Linked DNA regions of Homo sapiens: region 1 is linked to region 2. The links are contacts of gene promoters, found by promoter capture Hi-C in human tissues and cell types (Jung and others, 2019). All regions are on one chromosome and are shown on one strand. Each heading gives the region's core, a stretch centred on a gene start or on the middle of the fragment in contact. The rest is flanking DNA. Distances are from core to core; before and after follow the strand shown. Region 1 overlaps PPM1K-DT (PPM1K divergent transcript). Region 2 holds the start of HERC6 (HECT and RLD domain containing E3 ubiquitin protein ligase family member 6).

Region 1 (7,012 bases), core at 1,412-3,911, 88 kb after region 2:
ATTTCATTTGTGGAATGTATCAAAACAGAAATCTGACTTTTGTTAAAGTAATTAATGTGTTTTAAACAGAGATTATTCAGAACATCTTTTTTTTGTTTGTTTTTTTAAGAGATGGGAGTCTCACTCTGCCACTCAGGTTGGAGTGCAGTGGTGCGACCATAGCTCCCTACACTCTAAGTTCTGGGCTCAAGTGATCCTACTGCCTCAGCCGCCTCCCAAAGCACTTGGATTGCAGAACTGAGCCACCACGCCTGGCCCAGAACATCCTTAAAATGTTTAACCTCGCTGAACTATGTACAGAGAGGAAATGTAGTAAGACGATATACCTTGGAGACTAAGGGGCCTAGGTGAAAATCCCTGCTGTTCCACTGTATGGCCTAAGGCACGTCATTAACTTTGTGCCTCAAAATTTCCTCATCTGTAACATTGGGATAGTACTATCTATATCAAAGGGCTATTGCGTGGATATATGTAAGGTTTCTGTAAAAACTGACATTGAATAGAGGTTAATGGTGGGCAAACAAAGACATTTATAGGAAGAACATATAAACTATCAATCAGTTCAGCTTTCATTTTCTATTTTTGAGAGGTAAATAGCACAGTAGTTAGGAATATAAACTGTGGAGCCAAACTGCAAGGATTCATATCCTGGCTCCATCATTTACAAGCTGTGTGACCTCAGGCAAGTTACTTAACCTCTCTCTCTGTGCCTCATCTGTAAAATGGGGATGACAATAACAACACTGGCCCTTCTCTTAGGGCTAATGTAAGGATTAAGTGAGTTGATACATGTAGAACATTTAGAACAGTGCCTAGACAGAGGAAGCATTTGTAAGGGTTAGTGTCATGGTTAATTTTATTTGCCAATTTGGCTAGGCCGAGGTTCTCTAATATTTTGTCCAATGCCAGTCTAGCTGTGAAGGTATTTTCAGATGGGACTAATATTTAAATCAGTAGACCTCATCTGGAAGATTATCCTCCATATGGGGGTAGCCCTCAACCAATCAGTTGAAGTCCCTAAGAGAAAAAGACTTAAGTCACCCAAAGAAGCAGGAATTCTACCTGCTCCATGGCAGGAACAGCCCATGGAAGAGTTTGAATACCAGCCTCAGAAGTTTAGGATTTTTTTTTCCCCTACTGGAAATGGGGAGCTAGTGAAACTTTGTGAAATAATGTCATAAGATGAAAAGAGTATCAAAAGGTGTTGGATTCGTTAGGAGGAGGGAGAAACTAGGGAAAGAGAGAACAGGTAGAAAATAGTACAGCCTTGCATTATACAGGGGTATCCAGTTTGTTACTGGAAGAGCAATGAGCATCTTTTCCTTTACTCTTTACATTGAAATACATTTCAGGCCATACAGAGGTCCCTCATGTGGGCAGCCTGCTGTCCCTCTCTTGGTCCCCTTCCCGTTTTTCCTTTGCTGTAATTCTCCTTCTTCCCAGATTCCAGCTTCCTATCACTTCGTATGGTCTATGAGAAGACAGGGTGGGGTTAGGAAACATCATTTTTGCTGTCATTTGTGACCTGGGTAAGGTCTTTCCTGGTTTCACTGTGGCAGAATGACTGTGGATTCTTATTTCCTTATATTAATTAAAGTATATTCAAGAAAACAGATCTCTCTTGCACATTTCTCATAGCACAAAATTTGAATTTTTAAACTTTTTCTGGAGTATTTTTGCATATAAAATCTAGATTGCCCAAAGCCACAATAACTTATAAAACTGGCCCTGGTTTAAAGTCTATATCTAACACTGCTAGGGAAAGAAACATAGCTGGTTCCTTTCCCAGAGTATGTCAATTAGCTGGAAAAATAATACTTTCTTTTCTGCCATTGGAAGAGAAACTGACCAATAGAAAAGCAGTTCAGCACCTACACCCACTCGGTACAAAATAAGGCGGTGTGTTTGTACGTGCATTTGGTTGCTTGACAACCAGTGACAAACAGGCTTTTCATCATCTCTTACAATGTTACCTTGATATTCCAAACTCTAATATAAAGGAGACTCAGAAGAGAGCGATGAGTTTAGAAAACTGGACATCATTTCCAATAGGATATAAGCATACACACTTCCAGTGTTACAGATTTCAAAGACAAAGGCAGTTTCTCTTAATACTGCGTGCATTTTTCTGTTGTTCAGCTTGGACAAAACTAATTATTTATACATTCACTTCATTCCACTGACAAGAAAAATATTTATTGAATATTCTTTATAGGGATTACAAGGGAATTTTTGGCCTGTTTCAGCCATATTCTAATAGCGCATTAGCAGATATTACTTGGCAATAAACATTGACTTTTAGATTATCCAAGGTATAATTTTCACTGTGTTATTATGCACCATTTCCCACAGCTAGAAAGATACAACATTAATTTAAATGTGTTTGTATGTTGCTTTATAGGGTTTTCAATTTTTTAAACTACATATTTATAGGCTTCTTCAATGCACTGTAAAAGCTTCAAAGAATAATAACACTGCTTATTTTTATGGGACACTTATGTTCTCTACCTAATTGATTTCTGGAAGTGATTATATAGGTTAGCCAGGGCAGGTTATATTTAGTGCTGTTTTACAGATAATGAAACAGAGGCACAGGAAATTGGGTATTTGCTTGAGGACCCACATGGGTCAAAAGCAATGTTAGCCCTGAAGGGCTTCGGATTCAAATATAAGGAATGTTTTCTATCTTTTCAAGATACTTCTTGAATTAGAAACTTGTTTTCTCTTTCTCCATTGTTTCTTGGTAGCTTTGTATAATATTCAACCACACTGAATAACACTATACTTTTTCACTTGTAGCATTCATCATACATAGTTGCCTACCTTCAAATTTTCCTTCCAATTTTCATGAAAGCAGAGACCAGGTTTATATTGTTCATTTATTGCCATGAGTCCACAGCCTAACATAGTTTCTGATAGATAGTATGATCTTCATGAATATTTATTGAATAAATGTATGAAAATTTCCCTTAGGCTAAAATTACCCCAAGAACAATTCAAGTAAATAATTTTAAGTTAATTTTAAGTTAGGGTTAATATTTCTATCAGTTGAGATAGGATACATGAAGTTAGGTTAAGATCCAGTAACAAACTACATCAAAGGTTTGTTTCTTGTTCATGTTCCATGGCTATCATAGGCTTGCAGTGGAATTCTCTTCCTTGGAGTCATTCAGGGAGCAGCCATTCTCTGGAACATTGCTGGTTGCAATGGCAGAGGTGAGTGAACCTTGGAGGGTCTTGCACAGGGATACGAAATGCTCACTCAAAAATTACCCCATCACCTCCACTCACAATTCATTGACCAGGACAAGTCACAGATGCCTGCCTTCGCCTGGCACTACTGGCTTGGGTGATGAAGAACAGTAAACATTTAGCAAACAATGCTAATAATGACTATCATATTTCGCTTCCTTGATTTTGAGCATTTTGTGATTTAAATAAAACACAATTTTGTATAACCTTTCTTACAAAATACATTTACAAAATATGATTGTTCTCACAACAGCTCTGATGGGAAACATGCAATTAAAGGCTTGAATAAGGGTCAAATAGAATGAATAATAGTCAAATAATCGGAGGTGGAAATGGAAAGACATTTCAAATCTCTGTAGCATTGGTACTGGTCGAAGTTTTTTTTTTTTTTTTTTGAGGCAGAATCTTGCTCTTTTGTTCAGGCTGGAGCGCAGTGGCATGATCTTGGCTCGCTGCAACCTCTGCCTCCCAGGTTCAAGTGATTCTCCTGCCTCATCCTCCCGAGTAGCTGGGATTACAGGTGCACGCCACCACACCCAGCTAATTTTTGTATTTTTAGTAGAGACGGCATTTTGCCATGTTGGTCAGGCTGGTCTCGAACTCCTGACCTCAAATGATCCACCCTTCTCGGCCTCCCAGAGTGCTGGGATTACAGACATGAGCCACTGCGCCTGGCCTGAAGCTTATTTATTCCAAATTTTTAGAGGTAAATTATACAGGGTGGGGGAAGCAACAATCATATTTTAAAATAAAATCATTGCTGCAAGTTTAATTGCATCCAAGGACAAGATTTCAAATTCTCTCTCTCTCTTTTCTTTTCTTTTTTTTTTTTAAAGAGACAAGGTCTTGCTTTGTTGCCCAGGCTGGAGTGCAGTGGCATGTTCATAGCTCACTGCAACCCCAAACGCCTGGGATCAAGTAATCCTTCCACCTCAGCCTCTCAAGTAGTTGGGACTACAGGCATACATCACCATGTCTGGCTAATCTTTTTTTTTTTTTTTGTAGAACAGGGGTCTCACTATCTTGCCCAGGCTGGTCTCGAATTCCTGGCCTCAAGCTGTCTTCCTGCCTTGGCCTCCAAAAGTGGTGGGATTACAGGGATGAGCCACTGCAACAGACCTAAAAATTCTCTATGTCAGTGTTTTGGCAATTATCTTGGTAACACAGAGAAGGGACATCTGGGCTAGCAATTCAGGACAGAGCAGCCTGAACTGTGGAAAAAATACATCCTAGTATCCCAGGCCCATGTTTTAGGCATGAGGCCAAGAGTAGCCTACAGATACTTTTCTAGAAAACTGCTGATTCTGAGTATACAAAAATGTCCATATCTAATTTTAACAACAAATGATTCATTAGTGAATATTAATAATTCTGCAATTATACATACCACCCACCCACCCAAAGCCCTGTGAATTGTTTTGGGTGTAATTTTCTGATAGCCAGTGGTTTTCAGCAGATGGTCCAATTCTTTAAAATATAAACTGAGCTGGGCACAATGGTGCATGCCTGTAGTCCTAGCTACTCCAGTGAGGCGGGAGAATCATTTGAGCCCAGGAATTCAAGGCTATAGTGCACTATTATCACATTTGTGAATAGTCCCTGCAATCCAGCCTGGGAAACACAGGGAGACCCTGTCTCTAAAAAAAAATAAGTAAATAAAATAAAATATAAACTGAATAAAGAAGTAGCTCAACTTAATGAATGTACGGAGTGCCATATCCCCTTGATTATTTTGTACATTGTGCAGTGATCTGTCATGCCAAGTCAGCCTCTGTGGTGAATTCTTTTCCATTTTTTAATTTTTTGTCAAATACCAAATAATGATTTCCTTTACACATTATTCACATTTTAAAAGCTTTTATTTTAGGTTCTGGGGTACATGAACAGGTTTCTTATACAGATAAACTGCATTTCATGGGGGTTTGGTGTACCAATAATTGTGCATTTTATTTTATTTTTTTGAGACGGAGTCTTGCTCTGTCGCCCAGGCTGGAGTGCAGTGGCGCGATCTCGGCTCACTGCAAGCTCCGCCTCCCGGGTTCACGCCATTCTCCTGCCTCAGCCTCCCAAGTAGCTGGGACTACAGGCGCCCGCCACCACGCCGGCTAATTTTTTGTATTTTTAGTGGAGACGGGGTTTCACCGTGTTAGCCAGGATGGTCTTGATCTCCTAACCTTGTGATCCACCCGCCTCGGCCTCCCAAAGTGCTGTCACCTAGGCTAGAGTACAGTGGTGAGATCATGGTTCACTGCAGCCTGGACCTCCTGGGCTCAGGTGATCCTCCCACCTCAGCCTCCCGAGTAGCTGGGATCACAGGTATGCGCCACCATGCCTGGCTCATTTTTGTATTTTTTTGTAGAGACCATGGTTTTGACATGTTGCTCAGGCTAGTCTTGAACTCCCAGCTCAAGTGATTGGCAGCCTTGGCCTCTCAAAGTGCTGGGATTACAGGCATGAACCACTGTGCTGGCCATGAATTATTTTTGTGGTGTATTTAGCTATGCTTCAGAGATTCAAAACCCAGAAGCATATAATTCAAAAGAAGTAAACTGCTGGCTTTAATTTTAATGAGCTGTGGTAGAGTGTGAAATGGTGTGATTTTCAAAGGCAATTTCAAGGACTGTTTTAGTATCAAAGATATTCTTCAGAACAGCCTAAGTGGCTTTGCTTATCATGTGACTCTGGATTCCAGTCTGTTTTGGTACAAGGATTTAGCAAAGTCATGATGTTCTCAGATGCTGGGCATGCAAGTGGTTATAAAAAAGGTCAAAACTCCAGGACAATTCAAAATATTTTACACTTCCAAGCTTAAAATTTCCCACATCTTTCTTGTTACCAAAATTTTTCACATTTGTGAAAGCAAAGTCCTCATTATCTGCACCAAATTTTGATCCAAATGATTGAGATATTGCAACACATGATACTACATTATTGATGAGCAGATTTTTAAAAACTTAATAGTAACTTAGCTACCAAAATACTCCATCAAATGAAAGCCATCACCAACAGATATGTAGTAGAATGCTCATAGTAGCACTATCTATAATGGCTCTAAATGGCAAACTGCCCTAATGTCCATCAGAAGAATGAATTCATAAATTACAGTATATCCACAGAATGGAAAACAAAATGAATGATCTACAACTGCATACAACAATATGGAAGAATCTCACAAGTGTAATGTTGAGTCCAAGTAGCCAGAAACAAAAGAACACATACTTTATGGCTTTATATATAACAAGTATAAAGATAGGCAAAACTACCTATGCTGTTGAAAGTCAGCATAGAAACTCCCCTTGGAAGAAGGCAGTGCCTGGAAGGCAGGTTGATGGGGTTCCCAGGTATTAATAATGTTTTGTTCCTTGATCTGGGTGCTGGATACAAAGGTGTCTGCAGACTGTGAAAATTCATTGAGCTGTCTACACTTAGGATATGTGCACTTTTTAAGACACATGTTTCAATAAAATTATTATTTTTTTAAATTCCACGCCAGGTACAGTGGCTCATGCCTGTAATCCCAGCACTTTGGGAGGCTGAGGTGGGTGGATTGCTTGAGTTCAGGAGTTCAAGACCAGCCTGGGCAACATGGGGAAGCCCCATCTCTACAAAAAATATAAACATTAGCTGTGTATGGTTGAGCGTGCCTGTAGTCACAGCTACTTGGGAGGCTGAAGTGGGAGGATCACTTGAGCCTGGGAAGCAGAGGTTTCAGTGAGCTCAGATAGCGCCACTGCACTCCAGCCTGGGCAGGAGTAAAACC
Region 2 (7,567 bases), core at 400-2,899:
GTGCTCCGCCCGCCTCGGCCTCCCAAAGTGCTGGGATCACAGGCGTAAGCCACCGCGTCCGGCCTATTATGTGTATATATATATATTTATATATTATATATATATATTTATATATTATATATATATATTTATATATTATATATATATTTATATTATATATATATTTATATATTATATATATATTTATATATTATATATATATTTATATATTATATATTTATATATTATATATATTTATATATTATATATTTATATATTATATATATTTATATATTATATATTTATATATTATATATATATTTATATTATATATATATTTATATATTATATATATATTTATATATTATATATATTTATATATTATATATATTTATATATTATATATATTTATATATTATATATATATTTATATATTATATATATTTATATATTATATATATTTATATATTATATATATATTTATATATTATATATATTTATATATTATATATATTTATATATTATATATATATTTATATATTATATATATTTATATATTATATATATTTATATATTATATATATATTTATATATTATATATATTTATATATTATATATATTTATATATTATATATATATTTATATATTATATATATTTATATGCTATATATATATTTATATATTATATATATTTATATGTTATATATATATTTATATATTATATATATTTATATGTTATATATATATTTATATATTATATATATTTATATGTTATATATTTATATATTTATATATTATATATATTTATATATTATATATTTATATATTATATATTTGTATATATTTATATATTATATATATTTATATATTTTATATATATATTTTTATATATATATATTTTTTAATGCCCCAGTGTATTTCTAAGGGAGATACAGGTGTCTGACCCACAAACCACGTTTGTAAGGTCAGGCTGCCTTCTCCAGGTAGAACCGCGCAGGCGAGGATTTATCTGCAAGGCAAGCCGGAGGGACCACATCTCTTTCCAGAGCAGCGCTGACCAGGTTAGTTTCGGCTCTCAGTTTCGCTTTGAACTTGAATTGGAAACCGAAACAAATCCGAGGGGCGTTGGGAAAACGAAACTGAGGAAGTTGCTCTTCGGTAGCACAGGGCACCATTTTCCTGGTTCCTGTGGCTCTTCGGGCCCCGAGGAATCCAAGGCTCCCAGCACCCCTCCCTGCCTGGCCCGCGGCGCCCAGCATCTGAGCCGCTCCCTGCACCTGGGCCCCCGCGCCCCTCACCCGGGTCCCAGCGCTCCGCACCCGGTTCCCTGCGCCCGGTACCCAAGCCCCCGCGCCCATGTACTGGGGTCCTCACACCCTGCACCTGGGGCCCCCCGCTCACCTGGCAGCTCCCCGCGCTGCGCGCCCCTGCGGCCCAGCTGACCCCTGCTGTTGTCTCCGCACGAGAGGACCCTGTGGTTGGTCAGCAGCAGCAGAGAGTGGCGCTCCCCGCTGGCCGCCTGCAGTAGCTCAGCCCCGGGGCTGCCCGCCGTCCTCCGGCGCTGCAGCTCCCTGGAGTCGGCGCCCCAACAGAAGTACATCCCGCTTCTGCGCCCTGTCGCCTGCTCCGGATTCCGTCGGTCCCGCTGCGACAGGCTCCCGAACGCTGGTGACTGGGTGCGCGATGATTTCCTGAATATCAAGAGACTCACCCTGTCTTCAACCCGCCCCAGGGGCGCAGCCCTGGCCCCATGTCAACTCTCGCTGCCTGAACTTCAAGTGCTGAAGAGCAGAGAGGGCGTCCCAGGGAATAAAACTGAGTTTACATCCTAAGCCATTTATGAGTCGTGAATGCCACTTTGGGCAAGTTACCTAATGATTCCGTGCTTCAGCTATCATATCTACGAAATATGGACTGCAATTCAGCAAATCTAATATGTCGGGATAATTTAATAGGCACATAAAGTGTTAGAATAATACCTAGAGTGGTTAATAAAGCATCTGAGTGCCCACCTCATTCCAGACCTTTTTTGGCATTGAAAATATGTTTGTTTTTTGTTTGTTTGTTTGTTTGTTTGTTTGAGATGGAGTGTCGCTCTGCTGCTCAGGCTGGAGTGCAGTGGCACCATCTCGGCTCACTGCAACCTCCACCTCACGGGTTCAAGCTGATTCTCTTGCCTCGGCCTCCCGAGTAGGTGGGATTACAGGCATGCGCCACGACGCCCGACTTAATTTTTGTATTTTTAGTAAAGATGGGGTTTCACCATGTTGGCCAGGCTGGTCTCGAACTCCTGACCTCAAGTGATCCACCCCTCAGCTTTCCAAAGTGCAGGGATTACAGGCGTGAGCCTCTGGGCCCCGCCTGAAAATACAATTAGTGAAAGACAAGATCCTCTTGATGCGTTTACATTCTCCTGAGGGAAAGAGAACATAAACAGATAAACACATAGTGTAATATCAAGGGGCAACGAAAAATACAACAGGAACCAGAGGGTGGAGGCGGAAGGCACTGGTATTTGAGATGATATTAGGGAAGATCTCTCTGATGAAGTGATATTTGTGCAGAGAGCTGAGGGGACATGGGAAATGAGGGAATGAGTCGTGATCACACCTGAGGGCAGAGGATGAAAAGAAGCAGTTGGAAGGTTTTGAATAGAGAAGAGCCATGATCTGACTTCAGTTTTTAAAGATTCATCTGGCTGCTGTGTGAAAAATAATAGGACAAAAATGGAAGCAGAAAGCCAGTTAGCAGAGACTACTTCAGAGTTCAGGTCAGGTGATATCCTAGAAGGGAAGAGAGGAGAAGTTATTAGATTCAAGACATGTTTTGAAAGTAAGAGTCCACAGATTTGATGATGGATTAGAAATTGGGGGGAAAGAAGAAAAGGGATTAGGGATTACTCCAGGGTTGGCTTTAGGGGTTACTCCAAGGTAAACTCTACTGGACTGGGAAACCCTGAGGAAGGTGCAGGTTTAAGCTATGTGTGTCTGGAATACAGATTGGTAATGATAACTGTAAGATGCTTGTTAATCAAGAAGGCAATAGGATAAACTGTTTTGGAGTTGTAGAGAGAAGCTTGGGTGTAGTCAGAAAATTGGGAGCCATCAGTGTAGAGGTGATGCTTAAAGCCAGATGGCTGAATGAGAACACCCAGGGGGTGAATGTGGTGACAGTATAGCAGAGGCTAGAGGACTGATCATAGGAGGAAAACCAGGAGGAGGAGTTATAGACAGAGCAAGTAACGAATAAAGGAAGGATCAACTCTGTCAATTTCTTGTGGAGCAAGGTAAGGATTGAGCACTGATTTTTATTTATTTATTTGTTTGTTTGTTTGAGATAGAGTTTCCGCTCTTGATGCCCAGGCTGGAGTGCAATGGCGTGATCTCAACTCACAGCAACCTCCGCCTCCCAGGTTCAAGCAATCCTCCCGCCTTAGCCTCCCAAGTAGCGGGACTACAGGCACGTGCCACTACGCCCAGCTAACTTTTGTATTTTTTGAAGAGATGGGGTTTCATCATGTTGCCCAGGCTGGTCTTGAACTCCTGACCTCAGATGATCTGCCTACCTCAGCCTTCCAAAGTGCTGTGATTATAGGCCACCATGTCCCGCTGAGCACTGGTTTTTAGATTTGGTAACTTTGATAATGTTAGCCATCATCAGCATTATTGATTTTTTTTTAAAAGAAACTATTACAGAACCTATTTATGTAATTTCAATTCACCACTCTTCATGACCATGTTTCAAGTTCTTTAAAGAGAAGAACAAATGTTCTTTATTTTTCTACCTCAAGAGTACCTGGAACTTGGTAGATGCTAATAAGGGTATGTCGGACAATTGGATTGATGAGTAGTGAGTCAGTGGATAGTATTAGTATTTCTGGTTCTGTTTTGCTGTATACCAAATATAACCTTTTTCTGAATAGTAATTTCTTAATGTTTATTTCTTTTCTCAAGCACAAAATGTAGGAGTTTGGTATTATTACCATAAGATACTGAGCCCTCAAATTAAGTTATTTCTTTAAAAAAAAATTTTTTTTTGAGACAGAGTCTCGCTTTGCCACCCAGGCTGGAGTGTAGTGGCACGATCTCAGCTCACTGCAACCTCCACCTCCCCGATTCAAGCGATTCTCCTGCCTCAGCCTCCTGAACAGCTCAGATTACAGGCGGGCACTATCACACCTGGCTAATTTTTGTATTTTTCGTAGAGATAGGGTTTCACCATGTTGGCCAGGCTGATCTCGAACTTCTAACCTCAAGTGATCCGCCTGCCTCAGCCTCCCAAAGTGCTGGGATTACAGGCGTGAGCCACCACTCTTGGCCTAAAAAATCTTTTATTGATACATAATAGATGCACATGTTTTGGGGGTACATATGATAATTTGACACATTATCAAATTGGGATATCTATCGCCTTAAATAATTTATCTTGGGCTAGGCACAGTGGCTCATGCCTATAATCCTAGCACTTTAGGAGGCCGAGATGGGAGGATCGCTTGAGCTCAGGAGTTGGAGACCAGCCTGGGCAACATGGTGAAACCCCATCTTTACAAAAAATAGCTGGGTGCAGTGGCACATACCTGTAGTCCCAGCTACGTGGGAGGCTGAGGTGGGAGGATTGCTTGAGCCCGGAGCCTGGGAGGTGGAAGGTGCAGTGAGCCCAGATCGTGCCACTGCACTCCAGCCTGGGCGACAGAGCCAGACCCTATCTCAAAAAAAAAAAAAAAAAAAAAAGGAACATTCAAATTATTATTGGCTAGTGGTTTTGAAATGTACCTATAGTCATTCTACTGAGCTATTGAACCAGGTCTTATTTCTTCTATCCAACTGTATATTTGTACCCATTAATCAACCTCTCTTCATTTTCCTCACCCCTACCCCTACTCTTCCTGGACTCTGGTTACCAACAATGTACTCCTTATCTTCATGAGATTCACTTTTTTTTTTTTTACTCTCTGACATATGAGTGAAAACACGTGATAATTGTCTTTCTGTGCTTGGCTTATTTCATTAACATAATGACCATTCCACCCATGTTGCTGCAGAAATGACAGAATTCCATTCTTTTTTTATGGCTGAACAATATTTCATTATGTATATGTACCACATTTTCTTTATCCATTCATCTATTGATGGGCACTTAGCCTGATTCCAAATTTGGGCTATTGTGAATAGTACTGCAGTAAATGTGGGAGTGCAGATGTCTCTTTGATATATTGATTTCCTTTCTTTTGTATATACACAGAGTAGTGAAATTGCTGAATCATATGGTATTTCTATTTTTAGTTTTTTGAGGAACCTCCATACTGTTCTCCATAGTGGCTGTACTAATTTACATTCCCACCAACAATGTATGAAATGTACATCAACAGTGTACGTTTCTTTACATCCTCACCTGCATTCCTTATTCCCTATCTTTTGGTAAAAGCCATTCTAGCTGTGGTGAGATGATATCTCATGGTTTTGATTTGCATTTCTATGAAGATTAGTGATGTTGAGCATTTTTTCTTATACTTGTTGGCCATTTGTATGTCTGCTTTTGAGAAATGTCCATTCAGATCATTTGCCCTTTTAAAATCAGATTTTTTTTTTTGCTGTTCAGTTATCTGAGCTTCTTATAATAATATGGTTATTAATCCCTTGTCAGACAGATAGTTTACAAATATTTTTCTCCCATTCTGTGGGTTGTCTCTTCACTTTGTTGAGTTTCCTTTGCTGTGGAGAAGCTTTTTCGCTTAATGTAATCTCACTGGTCTATTTTTGCTTTTGTTTCCTGTGTTTTTGAGATCTTCCACAAAATTTTTTGCCCAGAGCAATGTCCCAAAGCATTTCCCCAATGTTTTCTTCTAGTAGTTTCACATCTTATATTGTCTTTAATTAACTTTGATTTGATTTTTGTATATGGGTCTAGTTTCTTTCTTTCTTTTTTTTTTTTTCTGAGATGGAGTTTTGTTCTTGTCTCCCAGGCTGGAGTGCACTGGCACAATCTCTGCTCACTGCAACCTCCACCTCCCAGGTTCAAGCAATTCTCCTGCCTCAGCCTCCTGAGTAGCTGGGATTACAGGCCTCTGCCATCACGCCCGTCTAATTTTTATATTTTTAGTAGAGACAGGGTTTCGCCATGTTGGCTAGGCTGGTCTCGAACTCCTGATCTCAGGTGAACCATTCGCCTCGGCCTCCCAAAGTGCTGGGATTACAGGTGTGAGCCACCACGCCCGGCCAGGGGTCTAGTTTCATTCTTCTGCATGCAGAAGTTTTCCCAGCACCATTTATTGAAGAGACTGTCCTTTCTCCATTATATATTTTTGGCTTCTTTGTCAAAAATGAGTTGGCTCTAAGTGTGTGGATTTATGTCTGAATTCTATATTCTGTTCCATTGATCTGTGTATCTGTTTTTATACTAATATGCTGATTTGGTTACTAGCTTTGTAGTACATTTTGAAGACAGGTAGGGTGATGCCTACAGCTTTGTTCTTATGCTTATTGCTTTGGCTGTTAATGGTCTTCTATTTAAAAAAAATAATAATAACTTTTATTTCCCTGAAAAAAGTCATTGGAATTTTGATGGGAATTGCATTAAATCTATAGATTGCTTTGGATAATATAGACATTTTAACAATATTGAATCTTCGAATCCATGAGCATTAAACATCTTTCTACTTTTTGTCTTTTCTTCCTTCCTTTCCTCTCTCTCTTTCTCTGTCTCTTCCTCTCTTTCTTTCTTCTGAGTCTCACTCTGCCACCAAGGCTGGAGTGCAGTGGCACCATCTCGGCTTACCACAACCTCCACCTCCTGGGTTCAGGAGATTCTCATGCCTCAGCCTGCCGAGTAGCTGAGATTACATGCGTGTGCCATCACGCCTGGCTAACTTTTGTATTTTTACTACAGACAGGGTTTCACCATGATGGTTAGGTTGGTCTCAAACTCCTGGCCTCAAGTGATCCACCTGCCTCAGCCTCCTAAAGTGCTGGGATTATAGGTTTGAACCACCATGCCCAGCCCCTCTTCAATTTCTTTAATCAGTGTTTTATAGTTTTCTTTGTATAGATCATTTTGGTTAAATTGATTTTTAATTATTTTATATTCTTTTAGCTATTGTAAATGGAATTGCTTTCTTGAATTCTTTTTTATATTGTTTGCTGTTGGTTTATATAAATGCTACTGGTTTTGTATGTTGATTTTGTATCATGTCACTTTAATGAATTTGTTTATCAGTTGTTTTTGGTGGAGTCTTTGGGTTTCCTAAATATAATATCATGTCATCTGTGAAAAAGACGAATTTAACTTCTTTCTTTCCAATTTGGATGCTCTTTATTTCTTTCTTTTGCCTAATTGCTTTGGCCAGAACTTTCAGTATTATGTTGAATAAAAATGGTGAAAGTGGGCCGGGCGCGGTGGCTCACACCTGTAATCCCAGCAATTTGGGAGCCTGAGGTGGGTGGATCACCTGAGGTCAGGAGTTTGAGACCAGCCTGGCCAACATGGTGAAACCCTGTCTCTCCTAAAAATACAAAAATTAGCCTGGTGTGGTGGTGCATGCCTGTAATCTCAACTACTCGGGAGGCTGAGGAAGGAGAATCCCTTGAACCTG

What was found. Contacts are between HindIII fragments. The study calls those that stand out against the background at their distance.
Region 1: a contact is called between a fragment that was not itself captured here and the fragment with the promoter of HERC6 in region 2, in 12 of the 25 tissues and cell types used here (H1 embryonic stem cells, adrenal gland, aorta and 9 more).

What each region holds. Positions count from the first base shown.
Region 1 is chr4:88,286,036-88,293,047 of GRCh38, reverse strand. The region is part of intron 1 of PPM1K-DT (PPM1K divergent transcript); the gene reads right to left. Among named protein-coding and RNA genes, the nearest start is that of PPM1K-DT, 4.6 kb to the right of the region's middle. The HindIII fragment of the contact is 5,845 bases long and covers 1-5,583 here.
Region 2 is chr4:88,372,934-88,380,500 of GRCh38, reverse strand. It overlaps HERC6 (HECT and RLD domain containing E3 ubiquitin protein ligase family member 6), which reads right to left and starts at 1,649. Exons shown (of 23, transcript NM_017912.4): 1 at 1,381-1,649. The coding sequence starts at 1,579. RefSeq lists an enhancer at 897-1,226 and a silencer at 1,237-1,426. The HindIII fragment of the contact is 12,273 bases long and covers 1-4,378 here.